2 separate regions of the Homo sapiens genome follow, and region 2 is linked to region 1. Evidence: promoter capture Hi-C in human tissues and cell types (Jung and others, 2019). All regions are on one chromosome and are shown on one strand. Each heading gives the region's core, a stretch centred on a gene start or on the middle of the fragment in contact. The rest is flanking DNA. Distances are from core to core; before and after follow the strand shown.

What was found. Contacts are between HindIII fragments. The study calls those that stand out against the background at their distance.
Region 2: a fragment that was not itself captured here is called in contact with the fragment with the promoter of TIMP3 in region 1 in 1 of the 25 tissues and cell types used here (thymus).

What each region holds. Positions count from the first base shown.
Region 1 is chr22:32,799,451-32,804,845 of GRCh38, forward strand. It overlaps TIMP3 (TIMP metallopeptidase inhibitor 3), which reads left to right and starts at 2,255. Exons shown (of 5, transcript NM_000362.5): 1 at 2,255-2,672. The coding sequence starts at 2,552. The region is part of intron 6 of SYN3 (synapsin III); the gene reads right to left. The HindIII fragment of the contact is 19,598 bases long and covers 1-5,395 here.
Region 2 is chr22:32,767,308-32,772,913 of GRCh38, forward strand. All of the region lies in intron 6 of SYN3 (synapsin III), which reads right to left. Among named protein-coding and RNA genes, the nearest start is that of TIMP3, 32 kb to the right of the region's middle. The HindIII fragment of the contact is 6,907 bases long and covers 1-4,771 here.

The DNA of each region.
Region 1 (5,395 bases), core at 1,005-3,504:
AAAACTGCTGCTTGAAGTTCAGCAGAAGTTATCTACTTGATACTTATATTCCAGGCAAGGCCTTCCGTTGGAGAAAATATCGGCACTTTGGACAAAACTGAAATGTGAAAAGAAAGGGAAGAGAGGGCCTCTATCATGTAAGATGCTTATCCAAAGTGGATTTGGTCTGGAAAGTCTTCTAAAACCTTCCACATGACTGTGGAATAAGTCATGTGGGGCGCGGGGATAAGCGAATCTCTCAAATTCCACCACGTATGCCCTCATTCAACCTGGATCCTTAGAGTGGCCTCCAGGGCACTCTGCTCAGGACTCAGTCAGCTGTTGGCCACACCCATGCTCTCCAGTCTCCTGAGACCCTATTTGGTTCTGAGAGGGCTAAAAAGCAGTGTGGCTAAATATCCCAGGCCTCAAAGTATTCCTACTGTGGTTGGGGAAGCAATAGAATCATACCCCATAAAACAATGAAAACAGTGCTAGAAAAACATCGAGAGACAGAAACATCTCTACGAGTTAGGCCACAGTTAGAGTGAAGGCAGGGAAGGTTTTTAAAGCTGGGTGGAGGGGACAAGTCAAAAAGATGTGGAAACTGGTTTCCCTTTCCTATGGCTAAAGTGCTCAAAGGGGAAAAAGGAGTTTCAAAAATGTTCTTGGAAATACCATCTCTCACGAATTCTTCGGCCTCTGCTGTCCCAATGTCACTTGTCTGAGATGTAAACAGAGGAGTTCTGAGAAAGAAGCTGAACTTGCATTTCTCCCTGTTTCTATTTGTTCCAAACTTGTGGCATTTCTAACAGGATGAAGCGGAAGAGAAAGGGAAAGAGACAAAAGTGTAGAAAGATGGAAGATCCCAGCTGCAAATGGCCATTTGCAGTTAGATGGAACAGCTGCTGACGTTCAGGGAAATGCATGTCTCTCTTCAGATGGGAAGGAGCAGTGGAAAGGGGTGACGAGTTCCTGGCTGGCCACCAATCATCCCATCTTTCTGTGCCGGTTCCTCATCTGGAAAGTGGGAGTGATACTTGTGCTTGCTTTTCCTACCCACAAAGATTATTGTGAGAGCTATAATACGGTGAGATACAGAATCCTGCTTTTAAAAATACAAAGCAGAATCAAGATGTCAATAATAAGGATAGTAATTGTGTTAGTTATCTGCAATCATCTATTATAGCTAGTCGTCTAGGATCCTGGATCGTTCTCCTGGTTTTACTACAGTTTTGGATCAGCTCACCCCCAAATCCCTTGCTGAAGGGTGGAGCTCTGTCAGCCATGGGCAGGGAACCACTTCCTCTTGCCTTTCTACTTTCTGTCTTTCAAACATGCCCAGGGTCTTTGCACTTGCTGTTCCCCCTGCCTGGTACCTCTCTCCTGTGGCTTGCCCCAGAGCTGATCCTTGTCTTTGTCCACTTCTCAGCGAGGATGGCACTTCAGGGAGCCCTTCCCTTACTATCGCAGAGAGAGCAGGCCCTCCCCAGTCATGTCCAACCCAGAACTCTGTTTTGTTTTCTTCATAGCCCTAGCATCACAGAAAATCACCCTGTGCATTCATGGATGTCCACGGGGGCAAGGGCTTTGTGTTGCTTAACCCAGCATCCTGAACCGTGTTTGTTGAATGAATACAGAACCCCGTTTGCTCTGGGAGAGCACAGAAAACAGTCTTCTATCATATATCATAGCCAGCTGCAAACAGCAGATGGCTTCCCATATCCCAGAGAGTAAGAACCAGAGAGAGAGAGAAAGAGAGAGAGTTTGGGTCTTTCTCCTCTGTGCCTGCTCTCTCCAGAGAAACTGGAGGGGTAGCAGTTAGCATTCCCCCGCTGGTTCCACCAAGCACAGTCAAGGTCTCTAGGACATGGCCACCCCTCACCTGTGGAAGCGGTCCTGCTGGGGTGGGTGGGTGTTAGTTGGTTCTGGTTTGGGTCAGAGACACCCAGTGGCCCAGGTGGGCGTGGGGCCAGGGCGCAGACGAGAAGGGGCACGAGGGCTCCGCTCCGAGGACCCAGCGGCAAGCACCGGTCCCGGGCGCGCCCCAGCCCACCCACTCGCGTGCCCACGGCGGCATTATTCCCTATAAGGATCTGAACGATCCGGGGGCGGCCCCGCCCCGTTACCCCTTGCCCCCGGCCCCGCCCCCTTTTTGGAGGGCCGATGAGGTAATGCGGCTCTGCCATTGGTCTGAGGGGGCGGGCCCCAACAGCCCGAGGCGGGGTCCCCGGGGGCCCAGCGCTATATCACTCGGCCGCCCAGGCAGCGGCGCAGAGCGGGCAGCAGGCAGGCGGCGGGCGCTCAGACGGCTTCTCCTCCTCCTCTTGCTCCTCCAGCTCCTGCTCCTTCGCCGGGAGGCCGCCCGCCGAGTCCTGCGCCAGCGCCGAGGCAGCCTCGCTGCGCCCCATCCCGTCCCGCCGGGCACTCGGAGGGCAGCGCGCCGGAGGCCAAGGTTGCCCCGCACGGCCCGGCGGGCGAGCGAGCTCGGGCTGCAGCAGCCCCGCCGGCGGCGCGCACGGCAACTTTGGAGAGGCGAGCAGCAGCCCCGGCAGCGGCGGCAGCAGCGGCAATGACCCCTTGGCTCGGGCTCATCGTGCTCCTGGGCAGCTGGAGCCTGGGGGACTGGGGCGCCGAGGCGTGCACATGCTCGCCCAGCCACCCCCAGGACGCCTTCTGCAACTCCGACATCGGTAAGCGCTCCTGGTGCCCCGCCCGAGCCCCACGCTGCAGCCAGGACTGCAGCGCTGCTTAGGGAGGCAGGGCGAGCCCCACTCCTTTCCTCTGCCCCAGGAGAGGGGCAGACGGGGTTGGGGCGGAGTGGAGAAACTCGATGTCCTTGGGCGGGGGCGCTGGCATAGCTGAGAGGGGAAGATGCCCTGCAGAGGAAACTCACAGTGGCTGAGGGAGCCCCTGGCCGCCTTTGCTTTCCTAACTTAGGTCGTGAGGTTCCTACCGGTCCTTTTGACATCTGGAAAATGTCCCCATTCACTACTAACGGAGGAAGGGCTAGAAGAGAAGGGTGGGGAAAGGGTTCCCAAAACTTGGAATGCTAACTAAAGTGCTGGGAAATTGAATAGTTAAAAAAAAAAAAAAAAGTTGCCCGCCATGTGCACGGAAAGTTGCAGGAGAAACTTGGAGTACTCCGAGTCTGCATCATCTCCTGCGCCTATGAAATTCATTCTTTTCACTGAGACCCAACCCAGCTGCAGGCTTCCCAGGCAAGCGCTAACCGAGCTTCTGGGACTGCCAAGTTTGGGTGGATTTAAGGGGGAAAATGAGGAGAAAGCTGTGGCATTGACCCACGCCCTGGAGGCACTGTGTTTGAGAGTGTTGATAGCCAGCAGAAGGTGCGAGGGGTCACTCACCACATAGCTGTGAAAATTCACAGGAAGGCTATTTTTTTCCCCCTTGAATGTGTGTGGGGAGGGGGAGAATGGGTAGTGGAAAACAGATTTGTCACCAAAAGAACAAACCTGCCAAGGGTCACATCACGGTGACAGTTCCAGACTGGACTTAGTGTCTTGAGTAGAGAGACCCTGTAAAGAGACCTCCTACTCCTTAGTGTGTATGGAGGGCCCCGAGAGCATCCTGGGAGGCTTGTCTGGGAGTGTTTGGGACACTTGTGTTTGGATGGCTAAAGGTGGAGTGGCATCTGGGAAACATCTCTCTCCTCCTTTCCAGCCCATAAAGCGTGCAAGTCCAGTGGCTCTGCTGGGAGAGTGTGTGTGTGTGCACTGGGCTGGGCTGGGCGGTGGGGTGGGACAGCCTTGCCGCCCTCTGCCTGTGTCGATTCAGAGGTGAAGAATGGAGCGTGTGTGTTTTAAGTACAGTCATAAAGGAGAAGGAAATTTTCCACTGAGTCTTGGGTGAGGGACTCTACCAGCGTGTTGTGGTGAGGAGGGGGAGGAGGTAGGAGCTTGGCAGGGGAGGCAGTGAGGGCCGGGAGGGGCACTGCTGGTGGGCTGGGCTGAGCCTAGAGGTCAGAGTGGGGGTGTGGTGACCAGAATGTCAGTGCAGTTGGCAGCTGAGGGTGTTTGTGTGACCTGAGGTCACCCTTGTAAGAGGCTCCCTGGGGCCTGCATGGTACATCCTCCCCTCTCCTGGGGGAACCCAGCTGGCCCAGGATTTGTGGATTGCTTAGAAAGATCCTTTTGGGCAGCCTGAAGACTGGGGAGGGTTTTCCTCCCTCCTCCACCTCCACCCACATTCCACTTACCCTTTCCCTCCTCATCCCAGTTGGTAACATTCCCACCTGATTAGTGTGGGGAGTTGCTGCTGCAGCTGAGTTCTGGTTTTGCCCAGCAGGATCACACACGTGCGGCCAGGAGGCTGGCAGGTGGAATCAGGGTGTGCAGGGGTGCAGCCCAAGTCCTTTTCTGCTGGAAAATGGGCTGGGTGACTTCACTTGCGTTTTTTTGGTATGTAGTGGGAGTAGGTCCCCATTCTTCCCCCTTGCCCTTTGCTTTGGGGTTTCTACCCTAAAAATTGACCACGGAAAAGTGAAAACAAGCATGAGTAGATCCTGCTTCCAATGGGGGCCTTCCCGTCTGCTTACTGCTTAGGTTTCCTGCGGTGGGTCTGAGCAATGCAGAAAGTTTCTTACAATTTCTCTGGATTGAAACAAGAAATAGCTCCCTCGCTCCTCTTCATAAATTTCTCAGAGAAAATCTAAGTTACCAGGAAGTAGCCAAAGACCAGGAGATTGTGGAATCAAAAAGAAAAAAAGAAACAAAAAATCTTCGATGCTCTGGCACGGATCCCAAATTGTTCTGCCTGGGTTTGGTGAGCTGCACTAGTGGCAGGGATGAGCTAATGCTTTTAAAATGGGAGGTGTGGGTGTGAGCTGCTTGCCTGCCGACCTCCCTCGCCTTGCACAGCACCCTGCTGGCGTCCAGTACTTGGCTCCCAAGTTTCATTGCTCAGAGCCTTTCTGGTTTCCAGTCTGGGTTGAAACTGTCTATTCTCGCCCTCAAACAAATATGAAGGAGCTCCCCATTCCTTGGGACCCACACAACCCCACCAGTCAACTTTGTAGCCCCCTAAAGGTGTTCACATCAGCCCATCAACTTCCTGTTTTAAAACCATCATGGTGGTTTTCTCTTCATGGCTTGGTGCCATGTTGGCCTAGCAAAAGGCACAGGAGGCCTGGCCTGGTCCTCTCCGGGGGGCTGCCCGATGGCCTTTCCTCCTGTCTCTGCTCATCCACAGGTGTCTCTTTTTGTCTTTTTTCCCCAAAGTCCTAGGGCCTGGCATGGCATTCTGGGGGAGGAGGAGTTAAAAGGTGTTTCTATGGCAACTCCAGGCCCTGCACCCTATGGAAGTGTTTAGGAGAAGAATAAACTACATGCCGGCTTATAAGACACACTGTGGGGGAAAGAAAGGGACTTGGCAGCAGGCAGGATGTCTGTGGTCC
Region 2 (5,606 bases), core at 68-2,567, 33 kb before region 1:
CTTTCATGTCCCCTGCAATCCAGTTTCTGCTCCCACTACTTTCCTAGGATTGCTCCTTCAAATGATTGCTGGTGACTTCACACACACACATACATGCACACACACACTCTTATTTGCATGATTTATCTTCCCTCATTTTGAGATCCATGTTTTGACTGAATTTTCATTTGATTGGAATACATCCTTAAGTAATTTCCTCAGAAAGGGCCTATGGATGGTATCCTAGGGTGTTAGAGCCCCTCTAATATGAATGGCGTCATGACTAGGTAAGGGAATTCTAGTTCATATTCATGTCTTTCATTAGTGTAAGAACATTATTCCACTGTCTTTGAACTTACATTGTTGCAGATGAGTAATCCGGTATCAGCTTTCTTTTCTTTTATTTTCTTTGTAAGTAGACTGTAATCTTTCTTTCTCTGAGAACATTTAGGATTTTCTCTTTAGAGCTCAGAATTGTCACCAGATTTTGTCTTTGTATTGATTTTATCATTCATCTTTCTAGGACTTGGGGACTCTTCTCTACCAACACTTCCTTCTCTTGTTGATCTCACTCAGCCTCATGACTTTAAATATAATCTATGTGTTAACTACTCCCAAATTTACCTAGACTCAATTGCTTCTTCAACATCTTCCCCTGGATGTCTAACACGCATTTCTAGTTTAACATGTCACCCCTTTGATCAGACAAATTAGGTATTTCTTTAGTTCAGAGACATTTTCTTCTATTATATCTTTAAAAGTATCATTTCTCTTCCAGTTACTCCTCTCTCTCCTTCCAAAGTTCCAATTATTTGCACATAGCTCTGTTGGGTCTGTTCCTTCATGCCCCCTATCTTTTTGCTCATGATTTCCTTTTCTTTGCATTTCTGCTAAGTGCCCTGAGATAACCCAGCTCTGGCTTCCTTCTGGGAAAATTCAGTGGTCTTTCTCCTTCTCCTTGGTCTCCCTGAATAACTTTATACTCCTTTTCTTTCAACTGTCTCATTTCTAGGCTGCTGGAAAGACATGCTTCATCTACATATTCGCCCCTTTCTCTGCCTTCTTTGATGGATGGCTTTCCTCTTTTTACCCCTAAAATTAGGATGTTTCCCAAGTTTATGCCCAACTCTCTTCTCTTTATATTTCTTTCCTGGGAGACCTCACCTACATTCTCAGGTTCAATCGCCACCTCTTTGCTGATGATTCTACCTTTATCCCAGACCTCCTTCTGAGCTCCAAGCCATATATGTATAATCAACTGCTTCCTGGATATCTAATGTGTGTATCCCATGGGCATTTCAAATATATGTTCAAAACAAATCTTGCCTTTCTATGTACTATAAACACTCTGTTTTATCTTATTTTTTCTCTTGGTTGCAAAAATATACCACATCTGAACATGGCTGGAGAAAACTGTGACCATGAACTGCAGGACTCATCCCATAGTACTTCCTGAGCCCATTCATTCTCCTACTCTTCCAGGCAACTATTTAACATTGCTTCCTTTCATCTCACACTTCTCATATGTCCTTCTCCTCTAGATTCTCAGTGACGATGATTTTGTTTCAAATTTCATTGAAAACATTAGAAGCAATAAGAAGAGAACTGCCAAAGCTCTCAGCACCACATCTACCCACCTTCCAGTACCTATTCCATATACCCTGCTTTCCCTCTTGCTCCTTTGCATGAACCCTGTGCTCCTACTCCATGGAAACCCTTCACTTGTGCTCTAGGTATCACCCCTTTCGCCGATTCTAGGACAATGCTCCACCCACATCTCCTCTTTCTCCGGCATCCACTTTTCTTTTTCTAATGGATCATTTCCATTCATTTCAACACGCCATTGTAATATCTTCCTTAAAAATAAAAACCCTTTCTTGACCCTATATTCACCATCAATTACCACCCATTTCCCCCCTGTTCTACTTTACAGCAAAAAGTCTATACCTCTGGATTCTGCTCTCTCTTTCATTCTCTCTCGACCTCACTCCCATCCCTCCACCTGCTATGGTCATCAATGACCTCCATGTTGCCAAATATAATGGCAGAATTTCAGCTCTTGTTTTACTTCGCTATGAAGCTGCACTTGACATAGTTGATCATTCCACCTCTTTGAAACACTTTCCTCACTTGGCTTCTGGGACACCACTCTCTCACTCTTGATTCTCATCAGCTGAGTTGAACTCAGTCAACTTTGCCGGTGGCTCCTTATCTCCCTGACTTCTGTGTTTGTTTTTTTTTTTTTTGGAGACTGAGTTTTGCTCTTGTTGCCCAGGCTGGAGTACAGTGGCGCGATCTCGGCTCAACGCAACCTCCGCCTCCCGGGTTCAAGTTATTCTCCTGCCTCAGCCTTCCTGAGTAGCTGGGATTACAGGCATGCGCCACCATGTCCAGATAAATTTGTATTTTTAGTAGAGATGGGGTTTCTCCATGTTGGTCAGGCTGGTCTCGAACTCCCGACCTCAGATGATCCGCCTGTCTCGGCCTCCCAAAGTGCTGGGATTACAGGCATGAGCAACTGCGCCTGGCCTCTCCCTGACTTCTAAACACTGTAGCACTCCTGGCTCTGCTCTTCTCTCTCCACACTCCCTCCCCTATTGATCTCATTCAGTCTCATGACTAAATATCATCCATGTGTTGACAACTCCCAAATTTACATAGATTCAACTGCTTCTTTAACATGTCCCATTGGAGGCCTAATAGGCATTTCTAGTCTAATATGTCAGCAGGCAAACCCTGACTTCTAGCCCCCCTGACTGTTCAATCTGCAGCTTTCCCCATCTCAGTTGATGGCAGCTCCTTTCATTTGCTCAGCCCCGAAACCTTGGAGTCACCCTTAACTTTTTCTCTTGCACTCCACATCCAATCCATCAGCAAATTCTCCTTCAAAATAAAATCAGAATTGACCTCGTTTTACCACATCTATCACTAACTCCTGATCCAAGGCAAATTCACCTCCATATGCTCTCTCTATTTCTGTTCTTGCCCCACAACCAATCTCTTCTCATAGCAGAGTGGTGATGCCTTCAGATGTAAGTCAAATGCCACTCTTCTGCTCAATGCTCTGCAATGACTTCCCATCTCCCACTGAATAAAATAAACTCCTTACCATGAGCCACAGGGCCTGTGTGATCTGCTCTTCCCTATCCCCATAACATCTCTACCCTCATCTTCTGCCTCTCCTCGTCACTCTCTCTGCTCCTCGTGCTGCTCCTAGAACACCCCGAGTTTGCTACCACCTCGGGGCCTTTGCACTTGATGTTCCCTTGTTCTAAAACCTCTTCTCCCAGAAACCCACATGGCTCTCTCTGTCTCTGTCCTTGTTCATGTCTCTGCTTCGTTGGAGAGACCCTCCTTACCCATCATATAATACAGCAACTACATGGTTCCTGACATTCCATATTCCCCAATTAATAGGTGTAAGGCCCTGAGTCAAGGCTCTTAACAGTTCTGTGTCTCTGTTTTCTCCTCTGTAAGGTAACTATAGCAAGAGCACCCATTCTATAAGGATGCTGGGAGGATTAAATGGATTACTCGATATGTAGCACACGGAAGAGTGCCTGGCACATATGTGTTCAATTAACACATATGTGTTCAGTTATTATTATTATTTATTTATTTTACTTTAAGTTCTGGGATACCTGTGCAGAACGTGCAGGTTCGTTACAGAGGTATACATGTGCCATGGTGGTTTGCTGCACCCATCAACCCATCATCTAGGTTTTAAGCCCCACATGCATTAGGTGTTTTTCCTAATGCTCTCCCTCCCCTTGCCCCTCACCCCCCAACAGGCCCTGGTGTGTGATGTTCCCCTCCCTGTGTCCATGTGTTCTCATTGTTCAACTCCCACTTGTGGGTGACAACATGTAGTGTTTGGTTTTCTGTTCCTGTGTTAGTTTGCTGAGAAGGATGGTTTCCAGCTTCATCCATGTCCCTGCAAAGGACATGAACTCATTCTTTTTTATGGCTGCATAGTATTCCATGGTATATAACCAGCCTTGCCCTCTGAAGTTGTCCACCATGGAGATGTTAAAATTCTGAAAGTTGAGTACCGGAGGAAAAAGGTTCAACCACAGAGTTGGTGACCAGAAGCCACCCCTAACCTCCCTGCCAGGCTCTTTGGGCCCCTGTGCACTGCATCTGTAACACAGCACAGTGGCCCCTGCCCAGGCTGGTGGAAACAACACTTGGTGAAGAATGGGCACCAGGACCAGGTCTGCATCTACTAGCTGTCTGACATTAGGCCAGTTACTTGATCTTTCTGAGCCTCAATTTTCCTTCTTTAAAATGGAGATAATATCTGCCTGCCTCCCTCACAGGGGAGGGTCACAGGACACACTGATGCCCAAATACATCTACATCATATTCGGTGTACATGACTGGCCATTTCAAATACCCTACAAAAGATGAACAATGCCCATTATTCATTTTCAAGCTTGGGGACTATATTAAACAATGCACACTGCACATGGAGATTACCCGTGAGTCTCTGTGGTATTCATTCATTCCCAAAGCAAATGGTCATTCATGACATTTGTGCTACAGTTTTACTGGCCAAGGAAGACACTCAGAAACGAATCTAGATCTCTCTTCCAACGGTCAAAATTAGAAAGGGGAGAGGGAGTACATTTCTTAGGCAGCTGCTGCTTGGAAGCAGGTTTGTTTGAGGGTTGGGGAGCACAGCCGTTTAATGTGGGAAGGGTGGTTGTGTGCATGAGGCTGCACTAGGCTGTCTGGAGAGCAGTTTTAGCCCAGAGAGGATGGGGCAAAACCCTCCTAGGACATCTGAAAAAGCCATTAAGCCTGGAAGAAAGGATCCTACATTGGAAAATAGACCTTTTCTGCTAGAAACTTCCCTCATTCTTTCTGTCCCTGAGGATAGTGCTGGGCCACAGGGGGGGAGAAAAGCAGGACCAGAAGGTCAAGAAATGCTGCAGATGTTGGTGTTGTTTTGTTCTTCTTCTTTCTTTTTCTTTTCTTTTTTTTTTTTTTCAAGAGGAGGGAGGCAGGTATGAGGGAGATCAAGGCAGCCCTAGGGAGTATCTAACAAAATGGAGAACCCTGGTGTGACCCCAGATACAGATGTGGAGTGAGCCTGGGGCTTCCAGAAGGGCAGAATCAGAGGTAGGAGCTGTCCCATCTCGGGCAAGCTTCCTTGTCCTTCCAGAACAAGGGTCAGCAAAGCTTTTTTGTATAGGGACATGAGATAGGCTGAAAAATGATCCGCCTCCCTCCACCAATGATATCCTCACCCCTAAAGCCCATAAATGTTAACTTATTTGGAAAAAGAGCCTTTACAGATGTGATTATGTTAAGAATTTTGAGATGAGGAGATTATCCAGAATCATCTGGGTGAGCCCCAAATGCTCACATTTGGGCAGAAGAGGCAGAGGGAGACTTAAGACAAAAAATGATTAGTGTAGGAGACCATGAGGCCAGAGGTTGGAATGATGTGGCTGCAAGTCCGGGAATACTTGCAGCCAGGAGAAACTGGAAGAGGCAAGAGAGGGACTCTCTCCTCAGGCCACTGAAGGGAGGATGCCCTGCCAACATCTTGATGTCAGCCCAGTAGAACTGACTTCGGACATCTGGCCTCCATAACTGCGAGACAAAAAATCTAGCTGGTT